Linked DNA regions of Homo sapiens: region 2 is linked to region 1. Evidence: promoter capture Hi-C in 16 types of primary human blood cells and fetal thymus (Javierre and others, 2016). All regions are on one chromosome and are shown on one strand. Each heading gives the region's core, a stretch centred on a gene start or on the middle of the fragment in contact. The rest is flanking DNA. Distances are from core to core; before and after follow the strand shown.

The links. Contacts are between HindIII fragments. The CHiCAGO score rates a contact against its expected background, and 5 or more counts as called.
Region 2: a fragment that was not itself captured here is called in contact with the fragment with the promoter of PPIB in region 1 in 2 of 17 cell types (megakaryocytes and erythroblasts); the score reaches 5.2 in megakaryocytes.

Annotation. Positions count from the first base shown.
Region 1 is chr15:64,160,802-64,166,269 of GRCh38, reverse strand. It overlaps PPIB (peptidylprolyl isomerase B), which reads left to right and starts at 3,248. Exons shown (of 5, transcript NM_000942.5): 1 at 3,248-3,418; 2 at 4,116-4,229. The coding sequence starts at 3,284. It overlaps CSNK1G1 (casein kinase 1 gamma 1), which reads left to right. Exons shown (of 12, transcript NM_022048.5): 12 at 1-745. RefSeq lists enhancers at 2,734-2,783, 2,890-3,390, 3,334-3,583, 3,391-3,891, 4,125-4,689 and a silencer at 2,924-3,283. The HindIII fragment of the contact is 3,002 bases long and covers 2,849-5,468 here.
Region 2 is chr15:64,681,138-64,686,605 of GRCh38, reverse strand. It overlaps ZNF609 (zinc finger protein 609), which reads right to left. Exons shown (of 10, transcript NM_015042.2): 9 at 5,219-5,297; 10 at 538-4,914. The coding sequence ends at 5,224. Among named protein-coding and RNA genes, the nearest start is that of OAZ2, 19 kb to the left of the region's middle. RefSeq lists an enhancer at 563-1,064. The HindIII fragment of the contact is 1,840 bases long and covers 1,714-3,553 here.

The DNA.
Region 1 (5,468 bases), core at 1,999-4,498:
CTAATTTATTATATTATTATTTATCTGTCTTTGATCTTTGCCCATTGTACTCTTAAAAAGATGTTGGGATGTTGATTGCGATTTTTAAACAACTAGATAATGTATAAATCAGCAGTGGAAATCAGTTTTAATGTGTGGATGTGTCTGATTATTGTTAAATGCCTCTTTTTTTACTTTTTTTTTTTTTAGATGTATAATGTTTCATAAACCCTGGCACTGGTCACAAAGCTCAGCTGTGAAAATGAAATTTGTAGTATTTTTAAACATGAATGTCAATTTCAAGTGTATTTGAAATGGTTCCTCCAGGAGAGATATTTGTGCACCATTAGGAAAATCTTCTCTGCAGAGGAAGTAGCCTTCTTTGGAGAAAATGGAAAATGGGTTCTGATATGTGATCTCAGAGTAGCCCATTTCCTAGGGCACCATGGAAAACACAAATGTGATCTTTAAGTATACCTCTTCCCCAGTTTGGGGAGGAAAGGACTCAGTTTGCACCCTTTTTGTATGTAAAATAAAATGTCTTACCTTTCTTGGCTACTTCTGCTTGTTTGGTTGGTTGATTGGTTTGTCTGTTTTTAATCTCCCTCGGCTCATTTGTAATTAACAATCTAGCTAGGACTAACTTTGATGCGATTCAAGACTCCTGTGAACAAAAATAATTTGGCATTCTTGTTTCATTCCTTGGATTAAATATTGTCTTCTCCTGTGAGTCACTTCAAAAATAAATACTGCTGTCTCTCTTCGAGTGCTGAAGAAGAAAATTATTTTTTAATTAAAAAAATAAATATTGGCCAGGCGCAGTGGCTCTCACCTGTAATCCCAGCAACTCCGGGAGGCCAAGGCGGGTGGATCATTTGAGGTCAGGAGTTCGAGGCCAGCCTGGCCAACATGGTGAAACCCTGTCACTACTAAAAATACAAAATTAGTTGGGCGTGGTGGTGCACACCTGTAATCCCAGCTACTCAGGAGGCTGAGGCAGGCCAATTGCTTGAATCCAGGAGGTGGAGTTTGCAATGAGCCAAGATCGCACCACTGTACTCCAGCATGGACGTCAGAGCAAGACTCCGTCTCAAATAAATAAATATTCCTGGAAGAATTTGGACATTATCACTCATACGTTAGTTCCTGGGTCCCTGTTGTTCTCAGGTGGTAGAACACAGGAAATCAGGATCTGCTCTGTGGAACAACTTTAGTAGCTTTATAATTCTCCTCTACAAATGCGGAATATGTGTCCAGACAGAAGATAGAACTATGATGAGCAATGTAAAACCATACTGCATATGTAGCCAACAGAACAACTGTCAATCTGGGCATGATTGACTCCTTCCAGTTTGTTACTACTCTTTAATTACTTTTTCACAGGCAGGTAGCAGTGGAAGAATCATGAGAGAAAAGTTTCACATTGAGAGCATTTTATCCATCAACCTGATTTCTTTTGAAAGTGGGAGTGGGAGAAAGGCTGCTGTGATGCCATTTTAGCCTTAGCTCCTCATGTGCAGGAGGCTACTTGGGTTTTTTGAGTGTTTCTTTGTTTTTGAGACAGGGTGGAGTGCAGTTTCACGATCACAGTACACTGCAGCCTTGACCTTCTGGGCTCAGGTGATTCCCCCACCTCAGCCTCTGGGGTAGCTGCGACTACAGATGCGCACCACCACGCCCTGCTAATTTTTGTATTTTTTGTAGAGACAGGTTTCACCATGTTGCCCAGGCTCAAACTCCTGGACTCAAGTCATCTGCCTGCCACAGCCTCTCAAAGTGCTGGGATTACAGGTATGAGCTACTGTGCCCAGCTGGAGGCTACTTTGAAAACATGATTTAGTAAACATTTTTCTCTGGCTATGGCAGCCTGAGACCAGTGAGTGAAGAAAGAGGCTTAACAAAATAGGAGAAAAAAAAAAAAAAGGGATGAGAGATGGATCTGGAAGATCATCTTTGTCAGTATAACAATGTTTAAAACTTCCTCCTGATTGGGGTTGTCTGAATTGAGGTGCAAGGATGGGAAATAAGAGAACTGTCTTGAAGCTCTACAACCTGTGTAAGGCCGCTGTAATGAACAACAAAGTTAATGCCAGTGGCCTTGCATAACTTCAGTCTCAGGTCAGCGCCTCATGAAGACTACATTGCATAATTTATGTAAATGGAGCCCTGCCTATAATCTGTGCTGTGACGACCTGGAATTTCTACGAAGTTAATCGTTGAAAATTAGTTTTAAAGACGTTTTAACGCCATAGGTCCAAATTTTGGAAGTTTGTGTTTTGGTTTGTTTTGGTGTGTAAGACTCCCAGTACCAAAGTATCTATGTTGTAGATTGGGACAACACTAAGTGTGTGAAGACCTAAAATAGCCCTGTGGGGACATCTAGTAACTATTCCTGACCTCCGGAAAAAGGCATTGTATCCTCAGGCCGTGGCATAAATTATTTCTCATGTCAGTGCGGATGTGAAGCTATCCCAACCAGGACTTGTTGGGCACTCAGTACTGCCGCGCTGTGAGGGAGCTGTGGACAGAGTAAATGCAACACAGTCCCTTCCGCAGAAAAAAAAAAAAATGTAGTCTATTGGGGGAAAAGGTAAAGGAAGTTAAGAACAGCGTATACAATAAGATGTCCATTGATATACACAACAGTAAGCACAGCAAGATTACAGAAGGGAGAGAAAAATGGGTAGTAACTTGACGGCCTCAGTAAAAAAGGAAGTGGGTTGTGCAGCAAGTTTTGCAAGACAAGTGGAGGAGCCGTACAAGGCCACGCTCGGTAAGGATAAATGTCCCTGAAGTGTTTGGAAGCCACAACGTTTAGAGCCAATTTGGCGGTGACAAACACTTGACTGGCCCAAAACAGTGACAAGCTTCCCGTGCCCCTTGTCCAGGCCCACGTATTTGCTAACCTCAAGCGCCAGCTACCGCAGGCCAGTGGAACAGCGCTCCGGGCGGGGCGGGCCGCGGAGCATGCCGGGGCTTGTGGTCTTCTCGGAGCCCGGGCCCGTGCTCTGCGAGGCCGCCTTCCGCCGGTGGCCTTCCTGTGGGCGGGAGAGGGCGGCCGGGAGCCCAATGAGGGAGCAATAACGTGGCAACCACCCACGAGCCCGCGTCGGTGCCCGCCCCGCAGGGGGACCTACTATCCGGCGCCGAGCCGGAGGGGGGAAACGGCGCCCGCCGCCCGCCCGGAGCCCGCGAGCAACCCCAGTCCCCCCCACCCGCGCGTGGCGGCGCCGGCTCCCTAGCCACCGCGGCCCCACCCTCTTCCGGCCTCAGCTGTCCGGGCTGCTTTCGCCTCCGCCTGTGGATGCTGCGCCTCTCCGAACGCAACATGAAGGTGCTCCTTGCCGCCGCCCTCATCGCGGGGTCCGTCTTCTTCCTGCTGCTGCCGGGACCTTCTGCGGCCGATGAGAAGAAGAAGGGGCCCAAAGTCACCGTCAAGGTCCGGTGGAGTCCGCGGCATTTACGGTGCCGGAGCTCGGGCCCGGGCGGCCTTGGCTTGGCCTTGGCTCAGCCCCTCCTCCCTCGGCTTCTGTCTGTGGCCTCGTGGCGTCTGGGCCGTCCTGCCCATTCAGTCCAGGGAACGACCCGGACCCACCCCGACACCCCCAGCCCCTGCCCTGACCCAGGGAGTTAGTTGGATCCCCGGATACCCATCTGGGGCCGACACTGGCAGTCTCAGAGCAGGCTTTTTGCAAACACCCCTCAGTGCTGGGGAGATGGTGAAAGATCACGCCTGCCGGATTCCGAATCCTTTCTCTCCTTAAGCCAAATTTTAGCCACTTCCAATTACAAAGCACAGTATGTATACTTCAAACTTAAGTGGTGAACTTAGGCTCCGCTCCTTATGGGTTTTCTAATGTTAATTTTTAGAATCTGGGTCCATTAGCTGTTTAGAGCAAATATTGTTATCCTGTAGTCCAAGGAGGGTATAGATAAGCATGTTTTCCAAGAAAAGGGTCTGGAGCTTTCATTAGATTCTCATAGGATTTTTACCGTCACCAAAATCAGATTCAGAACCACTTCTCTAAAAATATGGCTCTATTCTCTCTCCCATCCTCAGGTTAGCTTCTTGTACCTTCCCTCCCCTAGCAACGCCCCTTTAAAGAAGCTAAGTTGGAAATGGTCTCTTTCCTCAGGTGTATTTTGACCTACGAATTGGAGATGAAGATGTAGGCCGGGTGATCTTTGGTCTCTTCGGAAAGACTGTTCCAAAAACAGTGGATAATTTTGTGGCCTTAGCTACAGGAGAGGTAAGTGGCTGGAGCAGGGGTAGTCAACTCACATGAAGTGAAATTGGCACTGGGGATGGCAGCAAACTGACCTGCAGAGTTCAGCCGATCTGTAGCGTGGACCTCACTGAGCACCGACTGCCTGTTGCCCTGGGAACACAGTATTGCCCTTTCTTAAGAGTAATGGGGCCCTGACCAGGCACAGTGGCTCACACTTAAAATCCCAGCACTTTTGGAGGCCAAAGTAGGAGGATTGCTTGAGCCCAGGAGTTCAAGGCCAACCTGAGCAACATAGCAAGACCCTGTCTCTACCCCCGCAAATTTTTTTTTTTTTTTGAGACGGAGTTTCACTCTTGTCGCCTGGGCTGGAGTGCAGTGGTGCGGCCTCAGCTCACTGCAACCTCCGCCTCCCGGGTTTAAGTGATTCTCCTGCCTCAGCCTCCTGAGTAGCTGGGATTACAGGCATGCGCCACCACGCTTGGCTAATTTTGTATTTTTAGTAGTGACAGGGTTTCACCATGTTGGCCAGGCTGAACTCGAACTCCTGACCTCTGGTGATCCGCCTGCCTTGGCCTCCCAAAGTGCTGGGATTAGAGGTGTGAGCCACTATGCCCGGCCAAAAAAAATTTTTTTTAATTAGCTGGGTGTGACGGGGTGCACCTGTGGTCCCAGCTACAGCTACTCAGGAGGCTGAAGTGAAATGGAGGTTGCAGTGAGCCATGTTCATGCCACTGCACTCCAGCCTGAGCAATAGAGTGAGACCCTGTCTCAAAAAAAAAATAAATTAATTAAAAATAAAAGGCCGGGCGCAGTAACTCATGCCTGTAGTCCCAGCACTTTGGGAGGCTGAGGCGGGTAGATCACCTGAGGTCAGGAGTTCGAGACCAGCCTGGCCAACATGGCGAAATCCTGTCTCTACTAAAAATACAAAAAATTAGCCAGGTGTAGTGGTAGGCGCCTGTAATTCCAGCTACTTGGGAGGCTGAGGCAGGAGAATTTGTTGAACCCAGGAGGTGGAGGTTGCAGTGAGCCGAGATTGCCCCACTGCACTCTAGCCTGGGCAACAAGAGGGAAACTCCATCTCAAAAATAAAAATAAAAAATAAAAAAACAGGCTGGGCATGGTGGCTCACACCTGTAATCCCAGCACTTTGGGAGGCGGAGGAGGGCAGATCATGTGAGTTTAGGAGTTTGAGAGCAGCCTGGGCACCATGGTGAAACCCCATCTCTACTAAAAATACAGAAATCAGCTGGGCATTGT
Region 2 (5,468 bases), core at 1,384-3,883, 520 kb before region 1:
GAACTCCTGGCCTCAAGTGATTCCCACGCTTCGGCCTCGCCAAGTGTTGGGATTACAGGCGTGAGCCACCGTGCCTGGCAAATGTTATTAGAGCAAGTCTGGGACTAGAGACATTCCGTTGAAATCAAGTGTCCCCCACTGGGCAGGTAATTCCTAGAGGCAGCTGGCAGTTTAGGATGCAGATATTAAACAAACACAAGGAATCGACAAGACAGATGAAAAAGAACCAAGACAAAACTCAGTCCCTTACTTTTTCCCAAGAAACATGCTTGAGATTCTGCTGCCACCTATTGGTGATTCCTCTTCAATACGGCTAGAGTCACAAAGGCTAAATTGGAAACCCAGTCAAGATTTCCCTCTTCAAAAAAAAATCACCCAGTCAAGATTTCCCTTTTCAAAAAAAACTTTTGCTATTGAAGACCACTGACAGGAAAGAAATATGGTACCCAAAAGGCTGCACTACAGTTTAAAAAGCAACTTAGAAGGTAGAATATTTTGGGGGTGGGGGTGGTGTGTGAAAGGCAAACTAAGTCTAAATTTAAGAACAGGGACATTAAAAACTTTATTCAATAAATACAACAAATAATTTAAAAATATATTTCAATTCCAAAGCCAATTAAGAAGAGGAAGTAGAGAGAAAGGGAAAAAAGTGGGGATGAGGAAGGTAGAGGAAAAGAGAAAGCGGCCAAACAATGGTTTGGTTGGGCTGTGTTTCAGAGTATACCACCCTTTAAAATTCTGATCAAATACTCTTGACCCATAAACCCTTAGCCCTTGTTCTGATGGGGTAGCCACAGGAGTCCACCAGCTGGGAATCATCCACTGAGCTCTGGATCAGAGCATTCTAGAGGCTGGAATGTCGGGGGAGTTTTAGGGGTAGTTTTCCGGTCATTCCTAAAACCATCCGTCCTAACTCCCAGGCAGGTTTAAATAGTGCAAACTCTTAGGCAGAGAGCTCCCAGCTGCATAGTTTCACAGGTGAGTGTCCCAAGCCAGGGCCTCCAGGAAACAGGTCCCAGAGTACCCAGGGGTCCAAAGCCACTTCGGTGAATGGAAATCTAAAGGTGAAGAGAGGGGAGGCCAGGGCACAGAGTAAAGCTCCTGGGCTAAGCCAGTGGCCAAGCCAGAAAACAATGCTGGGCAGAAAAGGGTTACAAGGCAGGTAGTCTGGACACTGGATTCAACAGCTTGCCATCAGCCAGGGAAAGTGAAGCTGAGGATGCATATGGAGCAGGGCCAGGAAGATCAGGAGAGCTGAGGGAGAACAGGAAAATTGGGAGGAAGGAAGAGGCAGCTCAGCAGCAAACTCCAGGAGAAATAACCAGCAGCCCTCACAGATTTGTGATTGTCTCTTAAAAAGATTTATTTTCTCTTCTTGCCTGAATGTACAAAGGCAAAAAGAGTACAGTTTGTATATATATATATTTATATATATATATAAAAAAACAAGGAACTTGGTAATGTACACTTTACAGAAGGGAAGAATCAGGAAGACTGAAATTAAATTCAACAGAGCAACGCCAATGGAACAAAATCTATGAACAGCAACACTGCCCCTCCAGCCCGGGCCTCCAGCTCGCCCCAACCTGCTCCCAATGGGAGGGCTGAGCACCAAGGCAAGCGGGTGGGCTGGGGCAGGAGGGGCTGGGGACAGGGCCTGGGAGGGGCTTGATCCCAGGAGGGGGGCCCATGGTAGGAGATCACTGGAAAGCTTCCTGGGATGCCCAAGTAATTAAAACAAACAACAAAGGCCCAGAATTATGGGGCCAACTAGCTGCCCAGTTGCATCTTGGGGGCATCAGAGTAGACAAGGGGATGGTGAGAGGGTATACGGGATAAGTGACATGGGTGGCCTCAAAGCCTGTATGAAATAATTCTCTAGCCCTCTGCAGTCTTAACTCGCAACTCTAAGTCCTGCCATGGCCCCTTAAACGTGGAAAAAAGAGACTCAAGAAATCACCATTTCATTTCATAGGGTGCCCTCTTACCCTTCTAAGCGTGTGGTTCTTTGACCTTGTGATGTGTGGAGAGAGTTCGGTAAGAGAAGGAAATTTCATACATGTACATGTACAAGGCAGGAAAAGGGGATGAAGGGAACTGCCATACCTTAAAATGAGGAAGTAGTTGATGTGGATCCTAAAGAGCAGCTCTCCAAGCCTTGCCTGATCTATCTGGGGATGAGGCCCCCTCCCTCTTTAGCTTCTCCTCTATGGGAAGCCCCGTGAGCAATGTCTGTGAGGGCCTGGGCAGGGGTGGCTCATAAACAGGCTTGGTCTGGTGGTCTTGGCCCTTGGTAGCAAATTTTTCCAGCCTTTGTTTGTGGGGTGGGATAGGATGGGGACCCCTGCTGAGCATCTCATCCCTCTGACTAGGTCATGGATGCCACAGGTAGCTCCCACCTGTGTTTCTCCTCCCCATGTAGAGGTGGGCAGCAAATCTTTCACTCAGCACTTGTCAAGAATCTCCACAGCTGCTGCTTCATGTTATTTCAGAGGGAAGACTAGGCCCGGCAGGCATCAGGATCTGCCATGGTGGCTTTCACCTGCTCTTCTGAGCAGCTCCTACTCTTCAGGGGAGACTTGGATATGAGGATCAAAGAGCCAAATGTTTAAGAAGAAAAATTAAAAAGGAAAAGAAAAACCTGTTCTCTTCTGGAGAACCCAAGGCTGCCCAGCTAATACAGAAGTTCGTCCTCTGTGTTACAGAATGAGTGGAAAGGGCAGGAATGCAGGGCCATGCCTGCCCAATGCAAAAGAAAATTACTCCTAACGGTTTCTTTACAATATATACAGAGTATGCTGCAGGCCAGTGCCACAGATACAAAACACACAACAATATTTAAAAACAAACAGGAACAGAGAGGGAACCTTGGCTCCACCTCACAGGAGCCCCAGGAGGGCATAATCAGGCTGAAATTCAGTCACCCTCTTGGTTGGGGTGACTCAGGTGGGGTGGGATGACGGTGTCTGCACTAGCTACTTCCACGGAGGAAAGGGAGGTCACTGCTCAGAGCACTGCCCATGAGGGCAGCAGAAGGCAGAGGGAATGATGGGTATGAGGGAGGCTGTTTTGGGGCCCTGCCAAGAGGTCTAAAACAATGGTTTTTGGGGAGGACTCAGAACCCAACTTGAACAAAAACGAGGAGGCAGAAACCTAGGGAAAAGGCCTGTAGATCAGAGGGGATCCTCTTGAGCAGATGGTGACCCTAAGCCTCTCAAGTGTAGGGTTCCAGGGTCCTTGGAAATCAACTACTACTGGGCATTGTGCTTACTGTCCCCTATTTCCCATTTTCCAAACTGAGTCGGAGCCAAGTTCCTGCTCCTAGTCACTTTTGGCACTCTGGTCACACACTCCCTTTTCCAGCCTACACTGGTGTCTGTCAGTCTTTATCTCTCTCTCTCAATCCAGAGGGTCATGGAAAGATAGGAGGGGAGAACAGAGGGATGATACCTCAAAAGCCAAGTAAGCTAAGCTCCCCACACCTTGGGGAAGACATGACCCCAATAAAGCTACCAAATCATCCTCACTTTCCCAGTACAAAGAGTATAAAGCTTCCATTGGGAGACTGCATTTCTAAGGAGAGCAGAGAAATGTTGGCTGCCTCAAAGCACAGCTCCACTGAGTACATTCTGAGACTCTAATAAGTAATGGCTTGGATGTGTTATTCCAGGGTCTAAGGAACAAATAACCTCCCATGGCCAGTGGCCCCTCAAACAAAATATGTGTTACCAAGAAACACAGCTTATATTGGCCCACATGGAGGTTATAGACTGAGCTATATAAAATCATGTACTTGTAGACAGAGGAATTGGGCTGTATATATCTGTGGCCTCAAATGAGGAAGATATCAGATGGCTAGATGACAGGACATCTCCAAGAACTGCTGGGTGCTCCCAGGGGCTGCCTTCTGGGCCTTGCCCTAAGGTGACCTGGCAGACTCCAAGGTTCCCCAAGCTGGGGGGAATACTAGTTTATCTGCCTGAGGCTTAAGAGCCAAGCAGTGGAAAAGAAGAGGCAAGACCAGTGTGGGGATCCCCCTGGGAAAGGCACCAAGGGGTTAGGAGGGAAGGGAAAAGGGCAAGGAGTTGGGGAATAAGAAGCAGCAGGACTTAGTGGGGACGCAGGTTCTACTTCACAGACGTCATTCATGCTCCAGCACCAGCTTGCTCCCAGTGTCCCTGGGGAGCCCTGTGCTGGTGTTGGAACCCCTGCCCCCTGCCTCACAGGCAGCTCAAGGCCATGTTGGGGCAGATGCCTTGGTCTTCCTTTCCAGGCTAGGTTGTGAGCGTTTATATGTGCTCATGTAAATGGGGAGAAGTCTCCACATTTGAAGACCTTGTTTTCACAATTATGTAGAAAACAACCCCCAATTTCTTTCCTGAGATTCTAGTTCCTCCACATGCTGCCAATTCCCAGGGTGCAAAGCACTAGGGAGATGCAGAATCTGGTGATGGTGGTAATGATGGTGAGGGGTATGGCTGCTGTGCTGTCTTCAGACCTTACCCAGTGCTTGGGGGTGGGGGTCCCTCCCTGGTGGGCGGGGGGGCTGGTACTGCTCCAGCAGCAGACCAAGGGCTTGGGGAACAGAGCAGTGGCTTCTCTGGGCTGAGGCCATGTTCCCCTGGTTGCTTCCCGTGCCTTCATCTCCACAGAGGCCACAATAGTCATAACTGTGGCTGAGAGAATAAATATTTTTGCTAAGTACCAGCTCTCCAGCTCCTGAGGAAGAGGTAGGGTCAGGTAGTCCGGAGGTCTGGTGGAGGTGAGATAGCCAAGGGTCTGCCTTCAGTCATGGTGGAAACGGCAAACAGGATGATCAACACCATTTAACTGATGTCTAAACGGCACCTTCAGCACCTCCTTGGGTAAGCCAGTCCGGGCCCGTGAAGCTGACTTTATCCGGGCACTTGGTGTCTGCAAGGGAAACATGGACAGATAACCAGGCACTCAGCCTGTTGGTAAAAAAACCACAAGGTGGCACTCCAAGAAAATGAATTGTAGGAGTGGCCAGTACTGGTCCCTAGGGGACACTGTGTTCCACAGGTCCTCTCAGATGCACATGGCTTCACGGGAGACTCTTGTACAAGAGGCTTGGCCAGGGTTCCATGGATTCCAGACTGCTGACCCCTCATAGCTATTTCTCACCTAGGGATTCTGTGATCCAGGTAGCAACTATCCCGGCTTTATGTGTTGCCCCAAATTAATAAAAGTGACTTACCATTCTCACCTCCTGGGGGGTGGGTAGAGTGAGGGAGTTGAGCCTTGTTGGCTGGCAACAATGGCTGTAGAAGAAAGCCCTGAATAAGCAGGAGAACATGTTAGTGTAGCACTCACAGAAACCTTCCATTAATCTTTTTCCCTGAGTTTTGGGGTGCTGACAGAAAAAAAAATCTGATACTCAGCCAGATATATTTGCTGGAGATAGATAATAAGGCTCTATTTCTCAGCTGATTGTTTCTCTTTGCCTT